Regions from separate parts of the Homo sapiens genome. Here region 1 is linked to region 2. Evidence: promoter capture Hi-C in 16 types of primary human blood cells and fetal thymus (Javierre and others, 2016). All regions are on one chromosome and are shown on one strand. Each heading gives the region's core, a stretch centred on a gene start or on the middle of the fragment in contact. The rest is flanking DNA. Distances are from core to core; before and after follow the strand shown. Region 1 holds the start of P2RX7 (purinergic receptor P2X 7). Region 2 holds the start of HNF1A-AS1 (HNF1A antisense RNA 1).

The links. Contacts are between HindIII fragments. The CHiCAGO score rates a contact against its expected background, and 5 or more counts as called.
Region 1: a contact is called between the fragment with the promoter of P2RX7 here and the fragment with the promoter of HNF1A-AS1 in region 2, in 1 of 17 cell types (neutrophils). The highest score is 5.3, in neutrophils.

Annotation. Positions count from the first base shown.
Region 1 is chr12:121,129,850-121,136,330 of GRCh38, forward strand. P2RX7 (purinergic receptor P2X 7) reads left to right here and starts at 3,027. Exons shown (of 13, transcript NM_002562.6): 1 at 3,027-3,246. The coding sequence starts at 3,122. The region is part of intron 2 of LOC105370032 (a long non-coding RNA gene); the gene reads right to left. The HindIII fragment of the contact is 14,919 bases long and covers 1-6,481 here.
Region 2 is chr12:120,968,680-120,975,155 of GRCh38, forward strand. HNF1A-AS1 (HNF1A antisense RNA 1) reads right to left here and starts at 3,613. Exons shown (of 1, transcript NR_024345.1): 1 at 1,159-3,613. RefSeq lists an enhancer at 4,206-4,733. The HindIII fragment of the contact is 11,110 bases long and covers 1,122-6,476 here.

The sequences.
Region 1 (6,481 bases), core at 1,777-4,276, 160 kb after region 2:
AAGAGAGCCAGAGAAAGATAAGACAAAGATTGGATGCAGTGGCTTATGCCTGTAACCCCAGCACTTTGGAAGGCTGAGTCAGGAGGATCACTTGAAGCCAGGAGTTCGAGACCAGCCTGGGCAGCATAGCAAGACCCTATCTCTACAAAATTAAAAAAAAAATTAACGAGGCTTGGTGGCATGTGCCTGTGGTCCCAGCTACTCAGGAGGCTGTGGTAGGGGGATCACTGGAGCCCAGAAGTTTGAAGCTGCAGTGAGCCATGATTGCGCCACTGCACTCCAGCCTGGACGACAGAGCAAGACCCAGTCTCTAAAATAAATTAATTAAATTAATTTTTTAAAAAGAAAGATAAGATAAAGAGTCATAGAAGTACAAATGAGAAACCAGGAGAACATGGGACCCAGGAAAGTCATGGAAACCAAGGGAAAATACTGGTCCAAGATGCAGAAAGTAGCCAGTGATGTTGAATGCATCCAAGAGATCAAGTAACATAAGGAATAAAATATATCCACCCAGTCTGGCAACTGAGAAGTCTTTGGTAACCTCTTTGAGAACAGAATCCATGGAGTGGAGGAGGTAGCAGTGATGAAATAGCGGACAAGGGCTGAAGGAGTGGAGAGGGGAGAGCATGAGGGACCAGTGCAAGAGTGCAGCAGAAAGACAACAAACAGGCCGGGTGTAGTGGCTCACGCCTGTAATCCCAACACTTTGGTAGGCTAAGGCGGGCAGATCGCTTGTGACCAGGAGTTCGAGACCAACCTAGCCAACATGGTGAAACCCCATCTCTACTAAAAACACAAAAATCAGCTGAGCGTGCGCATGGCTGTAATTGCAGATACTCATGAGGCTGAGGCACAAGAATCGCTTGAACCCAGGAGGCAGGGGTTGCAGTGACCCAAAGTCTTGCCACTGCACTACAGCCTGGGCAACAGGGGGAGACTCCATCTCAAAAAAACAAAAAAAAAAAAAAAAAAAAAAAAAGAAAGAAAGAAAAGAGAAAGAAAGAAAGACAAGAAAATAGATGTCTTTGAGTGGTAGCAAGAGCAACACTGAAGTGATTTGCCTATTCTGGACATTTCCTATAAATGGAGTCGTAAAAGATGTATCCTTTTGTGTCTGGCCTCTTTCACTTAAGCGTAGTGTTTTCAAGGTTCATCCATGTTGGAGCATGGGTCAGTGTTTCATTCCTTTTTATGGCTGAATAATATTCCCTTGTATGGGCTTTCGTGCTTTTGTGTATCCATCCATCAGCTGATGGACATTTGACTTGTCTGCCTGTTCACTGCCATATCTACTATTCCTGGTGCTCTTGGGAATGAGTGAATGAATAGCATAAACAGAGCTGTCCAGGGTCACAGAGCTGGTAAGATGTGAAGCCAGGATCGGAAGCCAGGCCATTAGTCCCCTAGAGCCTATGTTCTAAGCATCAGGCTTTACCTGTGAATCTCCTCTTTTTACAGATGAAGATGACCGTATCACTCAGATTCCCGGCAGGAAAGCAATGGCATACTCAAGTGGGGTAACTAATGATGGAACCATTTACAAAGGTGTGGACAGAGTTAAGAAAAAGCAATAGGAGATAGTGAGCTTCCTGGGGCTGGTAAGAGTGGGGAGCCCTTACCACTCCCAGGACTAAAGGAGGGAGTGGTGCCCAGAAGCCCTGCCTATATGCAACTGAGAAGGGCAGGGCCAGGGAGTCACGTCCATCCTCACTGCTCTCCAGTCTCCTGAACTGGAAGCCAGAAGGTGAGGGGAACCCTGATGCAGTTTGTATGTGTGAGAAAGTACAATTAGTTTAGACTGAAAAACTGAAAATCTACCCGGCCACTTAGCAGGCTGGAATAACAGAAAGGGATCAAGCCAGCTGTAAAGATAACAGGGAACAATAATTCTCTGTAGCTGTAAAGTGATAATACAACCCTGCATCTTTGAGTGACTGCTGAAACATTGTCCTTTAAAATCAGAGACCTTCAGAAACTTTGCTGTTTGAAATTACATGACTAAGACTGAAATATTCCAATTTTGCCTGGAAGATTTAAGTCATCTTGACACAGAGAAGCAGCCTCAATTTACAACTCAGGAGCAGAGCTTCAGATAAAGATTTTCTGGACACATTTGACATGTATCTTAGCTATGTTGCTTCCTAGGAAACAGGGCCCTGGGTCCTCTTTGCAATCCAGACTGAAGTTGACTGCTTTGTACAAACCTGTTTTGCTTTGAGTCCATCAAAACATGACTTCATTTAGATTTTATCTCAACTCCACTTTCCTCGGAATCCTATAATAAATTGCTGTTTTCCTTTGTTTGGTGATGTGCGTAGCTCTTCTGGTGGGTGGTGTCCCTCACTGAATAGGTCAACAAACCTAACTTTGTTGGACTGCCACTGTGTCCCTGGTGATCTTTGGCTGATTGGTCTAGGTCATAGATCGACCTGCCGGGGTGCAGAGGAGGGTGGAGAGTAACTCAGAGGGTCAAGCATGAAAGATCTGGCAGAAAAATAAAGCCCCTCCACCCCCACCACCCCTACCCCTGCAAATCTGATTTCCCCCACCAACTGCAGACCAGAGTATTATAAGGGGCGGTGGAAGAAGAGGGGGAGATCTTCATTTACCCAGAGCTCCTATACATCAGGGGCTGAATAAAGGGTTGTAGAAATGAATGAATCAATCTCTGAGTGGGGCTTCAGGCAATGGAAAGATCTCAGTCCTTTTCTGAGGCATAATGGAAGCTCCCAGTCTTGTGACATTTGCAAGGCTGCCCCTTTCTCCCAAGAGACATGAGACCAAAAAAGTGAAAGGAAAGGGGGGAAAAGGGAGAATTCTAAAAATGCCCATCCTCTGAACACCATCTTTGTGTAGGCATCTGGGGGAGGCCAGCTGGGGTGAGGTCATCTGCCAGCCAGGCCCGTAGGACTTGGCGCTTCTTGTTTATCACAGCCACATGTGGGGCCACTGCCAGGGCCCGCCCCAACTCTGCAGTCATTGGAGGAGCTTGAAGTTAAAGACTCCTGCTAAAAACCAGTACGTTTCATTTTGCAGTTACTGGGAGGGGGCTTGCTGTGGCCCTGTCAGGAAGAGTAGAGCTCTGGTCCAGCTCCGCGCAGGGAGGGAGGCTGTCACCATGCCGGCCTGCTGCAGCTGCAGTGATGTTTTCCAGTATGAGACGAACAAAGTCACTCGGATCCAGAGCATGAATTATGGCACCATTAAGTGGTTCTTCCACGTGATCATCTTTTCCTACGTTTGGTAAGTGGGATCTGGGGAGGACCCAGATCTCTGCAGTGGCCGACAGCACAGAAAGCCCCAGCGGGCAGCTTCAGGTGCACATTCTGAATCTCACATGGTTTTCGAATCTGAGACGTGCTCTCACAGCCAGCTGGGCGGGAGGGAGGAAGCAGCAGCAGGCAAGAGGAAACGGTGCCAGGCTGCAGCAGAGAGAAGCCACAGGACAAGCGGGATTCCTTTCTGCTCTACTTCAGGCCCGCCAGGGCGCGCAGGGCAGGGCGTGCCTGGGGAAGGTAGGAAAGCGCAGGGCAACACCCTGGATCCCCAGGGAGGAGGCGAGGATCTCAGGGCACGCCTGGTGATCATGCTGGCATCTGAGTCACCATGCTTGGGAGGAATAGGACCAGGCTTGAAAATGTGTTATAACTTTAGGTCCTCACCAACGTCAGGAAGGCCCTGCTTTTTGGTTTTTGTTTCTTCTAAAAGAAACTTACTGAGATATAATTTATACACCATACAATTGACCCATTTAAAGGGTACCATTTAATGATTTTCAGATTATTCCCAGAGTTGTGCAACCATCCCCACAATCAATTTTAGAATATTTTAATCGACTCAAAAGGAATCCCACACTCCTTCACCATCATTTCCAACACTGTTCCTCCTCCTTCCCACCCATCAATTTCCTTTCTGCCTCTATGGATTTGCCGATTCTGGACATTTCATATAAATGGAATCACATAATATGTGGTCCTTTGTGGCACTTAGCGTGTTTTCAATGCTCATCCATGTTGTAGCATGTGTTGATACTTCATTCAATTTTTTTTTTTAAAGAGACGGGGTCTCACTATTTTGTCCAGGCTGGTCTCAAACTCCTGGACTCAAGTGATCTGCCTGCCTCGGCCTCCCAAAGTGTCAGGATTACAGGCGTGAGCCATTGCACCCGGCTGATACTTCATTCCTTTTTACGGCTGAGTAGTACTCCATTGCATGGATAGACCACTTTTTTCTATCCATTCATCCATTGATGGACATTGGGGTTGTTTCTCTTTTTTGGCTATCATGAATAATGCCACATGAACATTTGTGTACAAGGTTTTATGTGGATATATATTCTCCTTTCTCTCGAATATGTACCTAAGAGTAAAAATTGCTAGGTCATATGTTAACTATGTTTCACCTTTGGGGGGAATGTGGAGCTGAATTTCACAGCAGCTGCAGTTTTTTACATTCCTATCAGCAGAGTATGAGGGATCCAATTTCTCCACATCCTCACCAACGCTTGTTATCGTCTGTCTTTTTGGGTTTTGTTGTTGTCATTTTGTTTTTGTCTTTGAGATGAAGTCTTGCTCTGTTGCCCAGGCTGGAGTGCAGTGGCGCAATCTTGGCTCACTGCAACCTCCACCTCCCCGGTTCAAGCGATTCTCCTGCCTCAGCCTCATGAGTAGCTGGGATTACAGGTGTGCGTCACCACTCCTCACTAATTTTTGTATTTTTAGTAGAGATGAGGTTTCGCCATGTAGGCCAGGCTGGTCTCAAACTCCTGACCTCAAGTGATCCGCCCACCTTGGCCTCCCAAAGTGCTGGGATTACAGGCATGAGCCGCCACGCCCGGCTGATTGTCTGTCTTTTTTATTATAGCCATGCTAGTGGGTGTGAAGTGGTAGTTCATTGTGGTTGTGATTTGAATTTCCCTGATGGTGAGTGCCTCTTATTCTCTGTGCTGATTGATAATGATGATGAAGGCAATTTGTATCTATAGAGTGGCAGTGTAGTTTACTAAGAGTTAGGGTAACTTATTTCATAGTACTGGCTATGTCTTCTGGGCCAAGTCATTAACTTCTCTGAGCCTCAGTTTCTGCATCTGTTCATAGGGTTGTGGCAATTAACCAAAAAAAAAAGGCATGAACAGCCCTTATCATGATGACTGACATAGGATAAGAGCTCCATAACTAGTATCTATTTTTAAAAATAATCTTTTTAAGTCTGGGAGTGGTGGCTCACACCTGTAATCCCAACACTTTGGGAGGCCAAGGCGGGTGGATCACGAAGTCAGGAGTTTGAGACCAGCCTGGCCAATATGGTGAAACCCCATCTCTACTAAAAATACAAAAATTAGTGGGGAGTGGTGGTGCACACCTGTAATCCCAGCTACTAGGGAGGCTGAGGCAGGAGAATCGCTTGAACCCGGAGGCGGAGGTTGCAGTGAGCCAAGATCAAGCCACTGCACTCCAGCCTGGGTGACAGAGCAAGACTCCATCTCAAAATAATAATAATAGTAATAATTTTTTTGATTATATAATAGTATATATGTATATAAAATACATGTATGTATTTTTATCTATATCCTCTGCTCTGACCCTCAAAGTAACCACGTCCAAGTTCAGGATTTGAAATCTGGAAACGTGGATTCAAAAATCCTTCACCTCTTTGAGCCTTGGTTTCATCATCTGTAAAATGGGGAGAATTGTTGATAGGAATATTAAATGAACTAATAAATGCAAAGCTGTTTGAGAAATATATGGCATATAGTAATCCCTGATTAAGTGTTAGTTCTTATTATTAATAATGCTATTATTAGGATTATTATTATTCGATTCATATGTTTACTGTTCAACAAATATTGAATGATAAACATATATGCTGGGTCCGGCATGGTGGCCCATGCCTGTAATTCCAGCACTTTGGGAGGCCAAGGCGGGCAGGTCACTTGAGGTCAAGAGTTTGAGACCAGCCTGGCCAACGTGGTGGAAACTCCATCTGTGCTAAAAATACAAAAATTAGCCGGGCATGGTGGTGGGTGCCTGTAATCCCAGCTACTCGGGAGGCTGAGACAGGAGAATCACTTGAACCCAGGAGGTGGAGGTTGCAGTGAGCCAAGATTGCACCACTGCACTCCAGCCTGAGCCACAGAGCAAGACTCTGTCTCAAAAAAAAAAAAAAAAAAAAATATATATATATATATATAGTATTTTTAGTAGAGATGGGGTTTTGCCATCTCTTATATATTTTTATATATTTATATTTTTTATATATTTATATATATTTATATGTATTTTATATATTTATATATATGTGCTGAAATCTAAAATAAGACATATCACTTAAACCAGCTATCATAGGACCAATGGTAAAGAGCATAATTAGTAAATGCCCCCTTCTGCATTAATACGTAGATTGTATGTCACAATTTCATGTAGCAGGTGATGGGACTTCCTGACATTCTTGGGCCCAGCATACAATCTTTTTATTTCTT
Region 2 (6,476 bases), core at 2,363-4,862:
CTAGGTGGTAGGATGACCTGAGTCCAGGAGCTTGAGACCAGCCTGGGCAACGTGGTGAGACCCCATCTCTAAAATTAGAAAAATTGGAAAACAAAAAAAAAGAAAGAAAGAAAAAAAAATCTTCGAGTGTAGACTCAGAAATCTGTGTTTCTAACCCCTGCTCCAGGGCATTCTGATGCCGTAGCTCTGCTCCAGTGAGTAGGGAAGGCCAGCCAGTGAAGGCTCACATTGCTGTGGGTGGCAGAAGAGGACAGCAGGAGATTCTGACCAGGTAGATCTTGAAGACAGCAGCAGCTTGACAAATGGAGGTTTCCAGGTAGAGGGAGCAGCTTGCACAAAGGCACAGAGGTGAGAAAGTTAGGGGTATGTTCTGGAGATGGCAAATAGAGTGGGTGAGGTCTGGGTATGGAGGGGCTGTGCAAGATGAGGCTGGAAAGATTCAAATCGAGGAGGGCTTTGAGTGCTAGGCTAAAGCATCAAAATGTACTCTTGCCTCTGGCATTTATTTGCAAAATAGTGGTACACGAGGTAATTGTAGGTGATATGGTACATGTAGGGAGAACATTCTCTTTTCAGTCCCTTCTAAAGTGCTTACATTGAGGAGAAAGTTTCAATTAGTTGCTAGTCTATCTTTAACACCCCTCTGAACACTGCCTAATTTCCTTTCAACATAGAGAAACCCTCCTTAGGCTTAGGGCCTTAGTGTGAAACAAGAACAAGTGTGAATGCCTCATTTCCATGTCTGAATGACTGCTTGCTATTTATGGCAAGGGATACTCTTTTTCTTTTTCTTTTTTTGAGACAGAGTCTCACTCCGTCACCCAGGCTGAAGTGCAGTGGCACGATCTCGGCTCGCAGCAACCTCCGCCTCCTGGATTCAGGTGATTTTTGTTCCTCAGCCACCCGAGTAGTTGGGATTACAGGCACGTGCCACTATGCCTGGCTAATTTTTGTATTTTTAGTAGAGACGGGGTCTCACCATGTTGGCCCTAGCCTCAAGTGGTCTTGAACCCCTAGCCTCAAGTGATCCTCCTGCCTGGCCTCCCAAATTGCTGGGATTACAGGTGTGAGCCACTGTGCCTGGCCGGGATACTGTTTTTTTGAGTATTAAAATTATATAAAGCTTTTCTTTTCTTTTTCTTTTTTTTTTTTTTTTTTGAGACGGAGTTTCGTTCTTGTTCCCCAGGCTGGAGTACAATGGGGCGATCTCGACTCACTGCAACCCCCGCCTCCTGGGTTCAAGCAATTCTCCTGCCACAGCCTCCCGAGTAGCTAGGATTACAGGCATGCGCCACCACGCCCAGCTAATTTTGTATTTTTAGTAGAGACGGAGTTTCTCCATGTTGGTCAGGCTGGTCTCGAACTCCCGACCTCAGGTGATCTGCCCACCTCGGCCTCCCAAAGTGCTGGGATTACAGGCATGAGCCACCGCTCCCGGCCAAAACTTTTCTTTTTAAAATAAGTTTAGTTTTAAAAAAGTGAGTTGACAGGAGCAAAACTGCTAAGTAAATAATGCAAAAGGCAGTGGTGCTCAAATATGGGAAAATAATATGCAGGTGATACCAGAGTCTTGCCTTTGGGAAATGCAGACCCAGGTCCTTTTGTCTTTAGAGCTCACCGGCAATGCGAGGTGTTTCAGGTAGAAGGAACAGCATCAATGGGGTGTTGGCTAGTGTTTAACAGCTGGCTCTCTGAAAAAGCAAAATAAAACACACACACACCAAATCTGATGGTCTGTTTCCATGATGTGAGTACCTCCAGCTGGGCCGAACTGACATCACTGAACACAGTGGAAAGTGATGACTGCAGTTGTCTCTCCTGGGAGCTTCAACACAGTACAGGCTGACAAAAGTGGGCAGGGGGTAAGGGCAGGTGGTGGGAGTGGCCTCTACGCCAGAGAAGGGAATGGAGAGGTCAGGCTGGCTAGAGAGTGGGGTTGAGTCGTCCATGCCCTTGAATGCCAGGATGAGGGCTAAAGAGTCAAATGGAATGGGTGACTTCATATGCAGAAGTTTTTACAAGAGAAGAGAACTCAGTTTGGCCAAGAGAAGTGGGGTCGTCATGTTGGTAATCACGTAACAGTGATCGTTCAGTCATGCGGAATGCTTTCAAGGTGTTGGACACTGTTCATTTTTTATTTTTAGTTTTTGAGGCAGGGTCTCACTCTGTCGCCCAGGCTGGAGTGCAGTGGTGCAATCTTGGCTCACTGCAACCTCTGTCTCCTGGGTTCAAGCGATTCTTCTGCCTCAGCCTCCCTAGTAGCTCGGATTACAGTTGTTTGCCACCACGCCCGGCTAATTTTTGTATTTTTAGTAGAAATGAGGTTTCGCCATGTTGGCCAGACTGGTCTCGAACTCCTGACCTCAAATGATCCACCTGCCTCGGCCTCCCAAAGTGCTGGGATTGCAGGTGTGATCCACCACACCTGGCCGCTTGCAGGGTGTTGGACACTGTGGATATCACCTCATTCATTCTCCTAACAACCCAAGAGAAGAGGAACTGAGGCAAAGAGAAGTTAAGCAAGTTGCCCAAGGCCATACGGCTAGTAAACGGCAGAACGAGGCTCAAACCCAGGCACTCTGGCTCTAGAGTGTGTGTTCCTAACCACTGTGCTCTAGCACCTCGGAACCTTAGTCTCTTCATCTGCAAAATCAGCACTGAGGTGACAAGGCCAACGAGCAGAGGGTTGGAGTTACCCAGAACAACAACAACAACAAAAGTAATAGTAACACATATTTGGTCAAGGCTTAGATTCTGGCGTCATGGGGATCTGGGTTCAAATCCTAATTCTGCCTTAGCCGATTAGGGTCCCTATCCTCTTAAAGCCTTGGTTTCCTTATCTGTAAAATGGGGATATCATGAAGCTGTTAGATGTTAAATGAGAAAATGAATGAGAAAATTGCATGTACTGTCCATAAAGTTGAAAAGATAATAGGGGTGGGAAGGAGAACAGTCCGAGTTTGAATGCAGGTGGGCCCTGGGGCATTGTCTGGACTGAAGGACAAGGGTCAGTTGAATTGCCAAAGAGCTCTGAGACTGGCTGAAGGGACACTCGTCTTGTGCTAGCTGCTAAGACCAAGGGGAAGCCTGTGCCTCGCCCGAATTTTAGTCTTGCAAACAGCTGCTCACCCAGTAGGAGAGAATTGTGATAAAACTCATAGCCACCATTTCTTGAATATCTACTATGCCCCGGGACACAGCAGACTATTTTAGAGAATTTGCGAAGGAAACACAGTGACATCTGTTGGACACCTTGCAAACTACCAGCTCAGGATAGTTAAATTTGAATGTTAGATGGAGGGAACTTCCTTTCCACAATGACATGATTTTGTAAAGCTGAGTGTATGGCAGTTGTCATGATTAAAAGCAAGTGCCATGCAGAAGTTATTGTGTAACAGGAAATGAGATTAGATAGCGTCCAATCTAATCTCAAGGTTTGAGTAGCTGTGGACAGCCCAACAGGCACAGGCCTCCCGTTAGTACATCCATACGAGAAGTTAAGAATGAGTGAAAATAGTTTTTTTTTTTTTAATTTATGTGCATTATTTTTTTCAAGCAGCTACCTTGTTAGGACATACTTAATAGTTATCTTGGCCTACCTACTGCACTTACTAAACAACTGTTCACTTTTTAATTTTTAATTTTCAGATTTTTTTGAGACGGATTGTTACTCTATCGCCCAGGCTGGAGTGCAGTGGCGTGATCTCTGCTCACTGCAACCTCCGCCTCCCGGGTTCAAGCTATTCTCCTGCCTCAGCCTCCTGAGTATCTGGGACTACAGGTGTGCGCCACCACATCCAGCTAATTTTTGTATTTTTAGTAGAGATGGGGTTTTACCATGTTGGCCAGGCTGATCTGGAACTCCTGACCTCAGGTGATCCACCTGCCTCGGTCTCCCAAAGCGCTGGGATTACAGGTATGAGCTACCATGTCCGGCTGTTCCTTTTTTTTTTTTTCTTTTTCTTTTTTTTTTGAGACGGAGTTTCTCTCTGTCACCCAGGCTGGAGTGCAGTGTCATGATCTCAGCTCACTGCAACCTCTGCCTTCTGGGTTCAAGTGATTCTCCTGCCTCAGCCTTCCGACTAGCTGGGATTATAGGTGCCCACTGACAAGCCTGGCTAATTTTTGTATTTTTAGTAGAGACGGGTTTTCACCATGTTGGCCAGGCTGGTCTCGAACTCCTGACCTCAAGTGATCCACCCACTTCGGTCTCCCAAAGTGCTGGGATGACAGGCATGAGCCACTGCGCCCAGCCACTGTTCGCTTTTTTTCTCAGTGGTTCTCTAGTCCATTGCCTTAACCACTCACCATGACTACAGCTCTTATTTGCAGTGACTCTCAAGAATGCAAATGCAAATGCCATTCCTGACCTCGAGTTAATTCAGCTTTGTCCCCTGAGCATGGGGGAAAGGCAGGCTGGGGGCTGGAACTTTCTGCTTGTGTACCTATCTCTTTAGACTCTGGAGGCTCCTCCCCAATCTCTGTCATTCCCTCTCCAACCAAATCCACCTGCCGTCCCAGACTCAAATGCTCAGCCACCTAACTGCCTGAGGACCCAGCAGTTAATGAGTTTACATGCTGGGGGCAGGAGTCAGGGCCAACACTCCTTGGTTCCTCTGGCTCCCTGGAAAGGGAAAGTCACCAAGAGGCAGCTGCAGGCAGCAAAGAGAATAAGCAGGAGAACCTCAAAGCCACAAAGGGACAGCACACAGCATCTTCCCTGTTTAGCCTGGACTTGAGAATGCTGTCCCCAGCAGTAAGCTGCTCAACCTCAAAGCAACTTGCACGGGGGTTTACAAAAAAATGCACTTGGCCGGGCACGGTGGCTCACGCCTATAATCCCAACAGTTTGGGAGGCCGAGGTGGGTGGATCTTTTGAGGCCAGGAGTTTGAGACCAGCCTGGCAAACATGGTGAAACCCTGTCTCTACCAAAAATACAAAAATTAGCCAGGCATGGTGGTGTGTGCCTGTAGTCCCAGCTACTCAGGAGGCTAAGGTAGGAGGATTGCTCGAACCCAGGAGGCAGAGGTTACAGTGAGCTGAGATCGCACCACTGTACTCCAGCCTGGGTGACAAAGTGAGGCTCTGTCTCAAAAATAAAAATAAAACATAAATGCACTGGAGGAAAGAGGGTACCACTCTCCTTAAGGCGGGGGCTGCCAACTTGTCCTGCACAGCCCGTCCGCCTGCCTCAGGTGGACTTAAAGCCCAGCTCTGAGGGACTCTGAGCAGTCATTTAACCTCTCTGAGCCTCTCTTTCCTCCCCTGCAGAAGGGGGATTATAACAGTTCCTAATTCATGAGTTGTTCTTGGAGTGAAATACATTACTGGCCAGGTGAGATGGCTCATGCCTGTAATCCCAACACTTTGGGAGGCTGAGGTGAGAGGATTGCTTGAGCCCAGGAGTTCGAGACCAGCCTGGGCAACAAAGCAAGACCCCCATCTCTAAGAAAAGTAAATAAATAGGCAGGGTGCAGTGGCTCACCCCTGTAATCCCAGCACCTTGGGAGGACGAGGTGGGCAGATGGCTTGGGCTCAGGAGTTTGAGACCAGCCTGGGCAATGTGGCAAACTCTTGTCTCTACTAAAAAATACAAAAATTAGCGAGGCATGGTGGCACACGCTTGTAGTCCCAGCTATTGGAGAGGCTGAGGTGGGAGGATCACGGGAGCCCCAGAAGCATAGGTTGCAGTTTGCCAAGATTGTGCCACTGCACTCCAGCTCGGGCGACAGAAGGAGACCCTGTCTCAAAAAACAAACAAAAAAGATAAATATATAAATGAAGCTGGGCATGATGGTGCGTACCTGTAGTTCCAGCTACTTGGGATGCTGAGGTGGGAGGATTGCTTGAAGCCAGGAGTTCTAGGCTGAAGTGAGCTATGATCATGCCAGCCTGGGTGACAGAGTAAGAATCTGGCTCTTAAAAAAATAAAAAGTAAAATGGAACAGGTGAAGTTATTTTCTTTAATTTTTAAAATAAAAAGTTATTTTTATAAATAAAATTTTAATTTAAACCAAATTATTTTAAACTAAATATAACATTATATTTGTATAATATATAAATAATATTTTAATTAAATCTAATTTAAAATTATTCTAAATGTTAACTTTTTTTTTTTTTTTTTTTTTTTGAGAGGGAGTCTCGCTCTGTCGCCCAGGCTGGAGTACAGTGGCGCGATCTCGGCTCACTGCAAGCTCCGCATCCTGGGTTCACGCCATTCTCCTGCCTCAGCCTCCTAAGTAGCTGGGACTACAGGCGCCCGCCACCACGCCAGGCTAATTTCTTGTATTTTTAGTAGAGACGGGGTTTCACCATGTTAGGCAGGATGGTCTCAATCTCCTGACCTTGTGATCCGCCCACCTCGGCCTCCCAAAGTGCTGAGATTACAGGCGTGAGCCACCGCGCCCGGCCTAAATGTTAACTTTTAAATTGTCTTTTTTTTTTTTTTTTTTTTTTTTGAGACAGTGTCTTGCTG